Regions from separate parts of the Homo sapiens genome. Here region 2 is linked to region 1. The links are contacts of gene promoters, found by promoter capture Hi-C in blood cells and fetal thymus (Javierre and others, 2016). All regions are on one chromosome and are shown on one strand. The core of a region is centred on a gene start or on the middle of the fragment in contact, and the rest is flanking DNA. Distances in the headings are between cores, read along the strand shown. Region 1 holds the start of MIER1 (MIER1 transcriptional regulator). Region 2 holds the start of ALG6 (ALG6 alpha-1,3-glucosyltransferase).

Region 1 (4,224 bases), core at 489-2,988:
TATTTCCTGAAATTTTTATTTAAAAGCAACAGCCTACACCATGTCTTTATGATGTGGTGGTAAAATTTTATGGATAATTACTAATTTGGTTGAAAATACCTACATCTAAAAAACTTAGCCTATTACATTTGGAAGCCCCACATCTATAGTGACAATCAGCATCATCTTTCGTTAGTTTCATTTTTTGTTATTAATGCCACTCTAAAACACTTATATAGGCTTTTGGTTCTTCAAATAACAGTTTTGGATTTTCTTTTCATAATTTTTACAGTTTTATCCAGTGGCCCCATTTTATCAGAATATTACAAACTATGATTATGGTTTTTACATTGATGACATGTTATTTTTATCTCACCCAAATTCTGGAAATTTTTGGCCCATCAGTTCTCAAACACTGGAACATATAAGAAGAGTAATATAATCTTATATTACTTGAGGGAGTTTGGATTTTCCCTCCCTTAATCTCCAAGTGTACCCCTGCCTACCAGCATCACATCCGTCTTGTCTGCATTGAACCTCAACCAGTTGGTTCTTAACCACGTCCGAAACTCAGCCAGGCACTGGGAGAATCGAGCGACCACACCATCTGGATCAAAGGAAAGAGAGCCTCAGTAGCAAGGAGACAGAAACGATGATACAAGCTCACCATCCACCCTGTTTCGCATTTTTAAAAAGATGGTCGGGAATCAGGACAAGGATCCCATGACAATTTTAGAAAAACATTTAATGAGCCTTAAGTCATGCAATTTGTAACTAATGATAAAGGAATAAAAGCGACCCAATAAATAGGTCGCCTCATTCCACCCATAAGTGAAGAAGGTTCAGTCAACTCCGGGTCATCTTGGTGAAGCGGCCTCAATAGCCAAGTCAATCTTGTAATTACATAAGTTCTTCTGCAGAAATGCAGAATTCTAGCGTTGGAGGAAGCTTTAAATAGGGAAAACTGAAGCCCAGAGAGGGATAGTGACTCGCTCAAGGTTACACAGCATGCAGGGACCACAGATAGGCTCCAGGCCAGGGACCTAGCCACTACAAGCTGAAAGAACAAGAGTAAAGAGCGGCGGGCATCTGTCCCAAGGGATCCTCCCACGCGCTAGGAGGACCTCGTTTCCTTACAGTAATACCCTATTCGAGTCTCTCCTCCCTCCCTGACTCCATCCGAAAAGGGCAAGTTGGCCCAGGGCGCTGCTCACCATAAAGGCTGCAGTGCAAGCGAGAGCCTCCCGGGGATGGGACACAAGTGAGGGAAATACAGGAGAAAGAGGCGGAGCCACAGCAGGGTGGTCAGCTTAGCCCCACCCCGACTGGGATCAGGGACCGAAGCGAACGGGGCGAGGCGAACTCACTCCGCAGCGGATTCCCAGCGCGGCGCCACCACCGCGAAGGCAAAAAGGCGGCGCTGGGAGGCAGTCGATGGCCAGAGGGAGGAAGCTGCGCATGCGCCTTTGGCAGCCGGCGGAGAGCAAGCCAGGCGCGTTCTGCGGCAGCCCCTCCCCGGAAGTTAAGGGTCTTCCGGGCGGTACACTGCCGTGGGGGAGGGGAAGGAGAGAAAGGGGACTGAGGACACCTCAGGAGCCCCTCATCCCAAACTGGAATAGAAGGGGAGAGATGGCTTGTGGAGGCTGCACTTACAGCCGCTGCCGCTGCTGCCGCCGCCACCTTCGCTGCTGCCGCCACCGCCTGAAGAAGCCCCATCCATCCGCCTGCAGCCGGGAGACTCAGAGCCTGGGAGGGGCCTGAGGCCCGGGCCGCCCGCCTCCTTCTTCCAGTCGTCGTCCGGAGCTTCCTCCAGCTCCACCAACCCTCTGCCCTCCCCTCCGCCTCCGCCCTCCTCCTCGGCCTCGTGCCGCCAGCCAACCGCGCGGCCGCTTGTTGAGCCAGGGCTCCACCGTCGCCATGACGCCCGGCAAACATTCCGGAGCCTCGGCCCGAGCCGCTAACGGAGGAGCTTGGGGGTACAGGGACTTCAGAGGCGGCCAAAAAAAGGGGTGGTGCACCACTCCCCAGCTGGTCGCCACCATGCCAGTCTCTCCGGCAGGCAGTCACAAGCAGCAGAACTTCGGGTTGTAAGTTCCGGCGCTAAAAACCGTAGTCCATCCCCCTGGGACCCGGAGGGAGCCCTTCTATTAATAGATACCATTTCTGGATTTGGAAAGGGGCCCTACCCTAACTGGGTTCAGTCTGTAGACCTTGAAGCTCCTAGGCCACAATGTCTCCTTTATCGACCTACCGCAGTCTTTAAAAGAATCTCTACTGGGCTGGGCGCGGTGGCTCACACCTGTAATCCCGGCACTTTGGGAGGCCGAGTGGGGTGGATCACCTGAGGTCAGAAGTTAGCGTCCAGGCTGGCCAACATGGTGAAACCCCGTCTGTACTAAAAATACAAAAAGTTAGCCGGACGTGGTGGCACATGCCTGTAATCCCAGCTACTTGGGAGGCTGAGGCAGGAGAATCCCTTGAACCCGGAAGGCGGAGGTTGCAGTAAGCCGAGATCGTGCCGTTGCACTCGAGCCTGAGCAACAGAGCGAGACTCTGTCTAAAAAATAAGATAAAATAAATCTCTATTGCTGTGCTTGCTGTGTGAGAAAAGACCTGGTTTAGAACCATCGTTCTAGCACTTCTAGTTTGTTAAGGCCTGCAGTCTCTCAAGCTTGATGCTTTCATGCTGTGCCCAGACGTTCAAGAGCCTCAGCTTCTGTGAGCCACCAGGCCGAACATTGCTGTGCTCTGTAGTAGAGGTATTTTATTGTCGTCTCGTCAATACCATCTTACTTTAAAACTAATTCCTGCTTCCAACATTCTGTTGTTATGCAGCAGTTGAACAAGACTGTAGAAAAGCACACAGCTGTGTGGACTTGTCTTACTTTAAATGGTTCCTTAGCGCTGCCCGTAATGCTGCCCACTAAGTTCCCCCAAAATTCCCTAAGTAATTTGTTTTCTCTTCCCCTCTCCAATCTCCTCCACCTCAGCTAATCTTTCTTCAGCGGAACTTGTTGAGAGTTCTTGGGAGAGAACCTTGCATTCTCTCTTGAATATGGTACTCACGCTTTTGTCCATCCTACCACTCCATCAAAACAGCTTCTATGAAAGCCAGCAATAGCCATGCAACCAAATACAATGGCTGATCCACAGTTTCATTCTTTTTGAATGAAGCAGTGTCGGTCGGGTTTATCGCTTCTCGATCTTTGAAAAGCTTTATTTGGGTTCTGAGAAACCACTCTTCCTAGTTCTTGTCTTGGTTCATGGTTTCACCTTTCCCAGATCCTTTGCTGGTATCTGTTCCTCACTACCATAACTAAATACAGTCATGCATCGATGGTGATACCTTCTGAGAAATACCTTGTTAGCCAATTTCAGCATTTTGCAAATATCTTCTAGTGTACTTACACAAACGTAGATGTATGGGCTACTATACACCTAGGCTACAATTGTATAGTAGACTGTACACCTAAGCTATAGTAGGCTATACATCTAGGTTTGTGTAAGTACACTAAATGGTGTTTGCATAATGATGAAAATGCATTTGTTGCTTCTAGGCTACCAACCTGCATAGCATGTTACTGTACTGAATACTGTAGGCAATTGTAACACAATGCTAAGTATTTGTGTATGTAAACATAGAAAAGGTAATGTCTTGTGCTTGAATGTTGTGACAACTACAACGTTGTTAGACAATAGGAATTTTTCAGCTCTGCTACCAGATCACCATTGTATATGTGATTCATTGTTGATGATCCAGGACTGTATTGGTATTGCTGGGTTAGTCCATAAACCTCTTCACTCTGATGTCTTTAATATCACCTATAATGATGATTCACAAATGTTAATCTCTGGCTAAGACCTCTCCCAAGAAAACAGATTTTAAGAAAAAACACCTGCACTTATAAGTTAATAAACATCTCAAACCAAATATATAATATTTTCTGTCTTTTCTAATTAACTGCAATCTTTCTCATTTTAGTAAATGGCAAATTCCACTCTTTCACTTACTCAGGGGAAAAACCTTGGGATTACCCTTGACTTCTATCTTATACCTCACTCTATAAGCAAATTTTACCATTTCTACCTGCCAAATAAATCCAGACTACCACTCCCATGTAAATCACTGTGTTACATTGTGATACCCACCTAAATAGTCTCCTTGCCAACACCCTCCAGGTAGTAATCAATGTGGTTCTGCTCAAAACATTTCTCAAGTTTTTTCCATTTCACTCAGTAAAACTC
Region 2 (4,224 bases), core at 886-3,385, 3.6 Mb after region 1:
TAACCACAGGATACACTTTAAATATATTCAGAAAATATAATAAATCAACTAAAAAATTTAGGGCAAAATTGGTACATTCCACCTAATGATCTAAAATTATTTTATTTTATTTGTTTTTTTTTCTTTTTTTTTGAGATGGAGCTTTGCTCTTGTTGCCCAGGCTGGAGTACAATGGCACAATATCGGCTCACCGCAACCTCTGCCTCCTGGGTTCAAGCGATTGTCTTCCCTCAGCCTCCCAGGTAGTTGGGATTACAGGCACCCACCACCACGCCTGGCTAATTTTTGTATTGTTAGTAGAGACGGGGTTTCACCAGATTGGCCAGGCTGATCTTGAACTCCTGACCTCAGGTGATCCACCCTCCTTGGTCTCCCAAAGTGCTGGGATTACAGGCGTGAGCCACTGCACCCGGCCCTAATTATTTTCTTATTTAAAATAAAAACATCACGGGATAACTCCAGAACTGATTGGAATGGCTAATCTTTTGTCATTGATGCCAAATCTCAAATCATCCCCTCAGAAAGATCATCCCTGACTATCCTACTAAAGCTTCCTCCCCTTACTGTTTGTATCATTACCTTCAATTTGCTTCCTAATTCTTTTCACTAACAGGATTTGTATTTTCACATGACATGGTGCAATCTCACACACATAATTTTCAGTATAAATGCTGGACACCAAAGAATACATATCATATGGTTCCATGAAAGGTTCATAAATAGGCAAAACTAATCTATGGTGTTAAAAATCAGGAAAGAGGTTACCTTTGGGGAGGAAAGAAGGGATGGTGGTTGGGAGGGGTGCCCAGAGAGGTGTTCTGAAATGCTGTGAATCTTCCTTCTTGATTTGAGTAGTGGTTAGGAAATGTGTTGACTTTAGGATAAATTAACAAGTTACAACTTATAATTTGCGTACAGTATTTTTCTATATGGTATATTCCAATTTAAAAAGCATAAAAGGGGCTGGGCGCAGTGGTTCACCCCTGTAATCCCAGCACTTTGGGAGGCCGAGGCAGGTGGATCACCTGAGGTCAGGAGTTCGAGACCAGCCTGGTCAACATGGTGAAACCCCATCTCTACTAAAAATACAAAAATTAGCTGGGCGTGGTGGTGCGTTCCTGTAATCCCAGCTACTCGTGAGGCTGAGGCAGGAAAATCGCTCGAACCCGGGAGGCAGAGGTTGCAGTGAGCCAAGATCGTGCCACTGCACTCCAGCCTGGGCGACAGAGCAAGACTCTGTCTCAATTAAAAAAAAAAAAAGTGTAAAAGGAAATTACTTGGATGTGTTGACTAAAGGCTCCCTGTGAGCAGGGATCCTCCTGTCTTAGTCGTTGCTCTCTGTTCCCCACTTGTAGAACAGTGTTAGCAGAAGGCAGGTACCCAAGAAGTATTTGCTGAATGGAGCTGTGTGCGTCTGTGTGTACGAAGCGGGGAGGTACCCTAATTTTACTGAGCCCTGTGTGGTTAAAGATATTATGCGAGGCTTTTAACGACTCTCTTCTGCTTAAACCAGAAAAAGGGTTATTTGCGACTTTTTCCACCTGTAAATCAGAAAACAGTAATTTTCTAACCCATCCACTGGCCACGAAGTTGCTAGGCAGGCAGTAGATGCGCTTTTCGTCCTCCTTTGCCCTGACGGTGCATCTCGACAAATGCCAAGCCCGCCGTCCCCATCCCAGAACCGACTTTGCTCCTTTTAGTCTGAAAGGTCCTTCCACCGCAGTGGACACAACACCGGGGAGTGCAGCTATCCCGGGCGTGTATATGGGGCGAAAGGGATCCCTTCTCGCGTTTCTCCGCCCCTCCTCTTGAGGGCCAGGCCCTCAGAACCGCAAGGACAAGGGTGCCAGGACCGCCCCAGCCTGCAAGTGCCACCACTATCACCGCGTCCCCTCACCCGACCCACAAGCGACCCTGCAGGAAGGGCTGGGGAGGCCTCGCGTCGCGTCCCTGGGAGTGGAGCGGAGCTGGGAGACGGGTCGCCAGCTCTGCGCCGGCTCGTGGCGCGTCCGAGCCCCCGGCACCTCCCCACACTGGCCTGGGGTCCGGAACCTCCGGGATCCCATGCTCTTACCCCGCCGCCCGCCGGCCGCTGGGATTCGCGCCTGCCGTGGGTCCCAGGAAGGCGCATGCGCGCTCGCCCCCGCGGCGGACTGCCCCTCCGGCCTTCCGCCTCCGTGTGCCCGCGCACCACCCGCGCGCCCGGTGCGGGAGCGAGCCCGTCGAGCGTGAGGGGAGGGGCGGGCAACCTGGCCTGGACAGGAGGCGGCCGGCTTAGGAGGCGGGGCAAGAGCCGATGGAACCCGAGAGGTCCCCAGCCCCGGGTTAGGCTAGGGGCAGGTGGAAAGCCCCTTGCTCTTCTTTCCTGGGATCGTGGCCAAGGCCGGAGCGGCTGCTTAGCCAACGGATTCCTGTCAGGGGCGGGCCCTGGCTTGCTGCACTGAGCAGAGAGCCTTGGCCGGTCCTCACCACCTCTGGGCCTGTGCCCTCGAGGAGCCAGAAAGCCAACCTGCTTCACTTTCTTCTAGCCACATGCCTGCGAAGAAGAAGACTGGGCAGCCCCCTAAAGTAAGAAACATTGAACATCCAACCATTTGCGAGAGCCTGTGCGTTGTGCAAAAGGACAGCCCTGCCCTCGAGTAGCCACTACACGTGCCCCAGCGGGCAGCTTGAATCACCTGGTCCCAAACTTGCCAAAAATACCTATCTAGTAAGTTAGTAAGACCTGCACACTTTTCCTTTTGCATTGATCCCTTCCTTTCCAGTTCCACTATTTCCATCTCAGTCTAGGCTTCTGTCCAATCACGCATGGACGGCTGTGATGATTTTTACTTGCCTTCCTTTGTTCAGAGAGTGCCCTCATTCCCCACTTCTGAATCTTGCCATTCTACGTAAGCCAACCCCTATAATTTGTAAGTGTTAGCAAATATTTGGCTAGGACTATGGCTTTCTACTGAGTCTGAATAACTTCTCTCTGGGCCTCAGTTTCTTCAACTGTGAAAGAAATCAGTAGGGCTAGGTGAACTTCCAGGTCTAAAATATGATTATATCTAAAAGACCATCAGCACTGGGAATATGGAGAAATATGGCAGGTCCCTGCCCTCAAGGCATTTAATTCTCATTGGAAAGACATTTTTATGCATAAAAGGATAAAAAGCTATAGAAGGAAACACATACTAAATGTTACATTACTTACATATGCACTAAGCACTGTAGGAGTTAGGAGAAGAGGGTTCACTGTAAACTGCAAACCATCAGGAAATGCTTTTCCTGGAGGAGTCAGCTGAGCTTTGAAGGAAAGCCTGGCTGGATAAGCCCAGAGAATGAGAGTAAGAATCTAGACAAAGGAAATGGTTCAAGCCAAATATTGTGGCAGCTGAAAAGTGTAGAACATTTCCTCTAGTTTAGGTGGTGGGTGATGAAGCTGGAAAGGACTGGTAATTGTAGAGAGCCTTGAATACCAGGCTATGGTGTCTGGAATGTATCCAGTGATCAGTAAGGGGCTATTAAATGACTTTTAGCAGGGAGTCAAGTATACAGTACAGTTACAGTGTTAGAGAAAACTTAAAGTGGTGAAAATGGATCAGATGAATCAGAGGGAGACTATAGCAGTCCACGCATGATTAGACAAGGGCTTGGACTGAGATGGCAATAGTGGAACTGCAAAGGGAGAGATCAATGCAAGAAGAAACATGTACAGGTCTTTTTTTTTTTTTTCTGAGACGCAGTTTCGCTCTTGTTCTCTTGTTGCCCAGGCTGGGGAGCAATGGCACGATCTCGGCTCACCACAACCTCCACCTCCCGGGTTCAAGCAATTCTCCTGCCTCAGCCTCCCGAGTAGCTGGGATTACAGGCATGCACCACCACACCTGGCTAATTTTGTATGTTTAGTAGACATAGGGTTTCTCTGTGTTGGTCAGGCTAGTCTCGAACTCCTGACCTCAGGTGATCTGCCTGCCTCGGCCTCCCAAAGTGCTGGGATTACAGGCGTGAGCTGCTGCACCTGGCCTCGTGTACAGGTCTTAATAGCATACTAGATATGTACAAGTGAAACAAAGGAGAGGGAAGAATCAAGGATGGCTCCCAAGGTTTCAAGTGTGCATTACAGTTCCCAAGAACTGATAGATCTTGGGAAGCCTGGAGAATAATCTGGCTTGGAGGGAAAGATGGTTCATTGTATTGAGTTCACGGTAACATAAAGACAAGAAAGTTGTAATACTCAGG

What was found. Contacts are between HindIII fragments. The CHiCAGO score rates a contact against its expected background, and 5 or more counts as called.
Region 2: a contact is called between the fragment with the promoter of ALG6 here and the fragment with the promoter of MIER1 in region 1, in 1 of 17 cell types (non-activated CD4 T cells). The highest score is 8.5, in non-activated CD4 T cells.

The regions. Positions count from the first base shown.
Region 1 is chr1:66,922,504-66,926,727 of GRCh38, reverse strand. MIER1 (MIER1 transcriptional regulator) reads right to left here and starts at 1,738. Exons shown (of 14, transcript NM_001077700.3): 1 at 1,633-1,738; 2 at 486-586. The coding sequence starts at 1,699. DNAI4 (dynein axonemal intermediate chain 4) reads left to right here and starts at 1,872. Exons shown (of 17, transcript NM_024763.5): 1 at 1,872-2,066. The coding sequence starts at 1,897. RefSeq lists enhancers at 1,440-1,719, 2,010-2,169 and a silencer at 1,750-1,869. The HindIII fragment of the contact is 1,723 bases long and covers 930-2,652 here.
Region 2 is chr1:63,365,538-63,369,761 of GRCh38, reverse strand. It overlaps ALG6 (ALG6 alpha-1,3-glucosyltransferase), which reads right to left and starts at 2,135. Exons shown (of 15, transcript NM_013339.4): 1 at 2,075-2,135. RefSeq lists enhancers at 1,566-1,675, 2,536-2,675 and a silencer at 1,856-2,335. The HindIII fragment of the contact is 8,093 bases long and covers 553-4,224 here.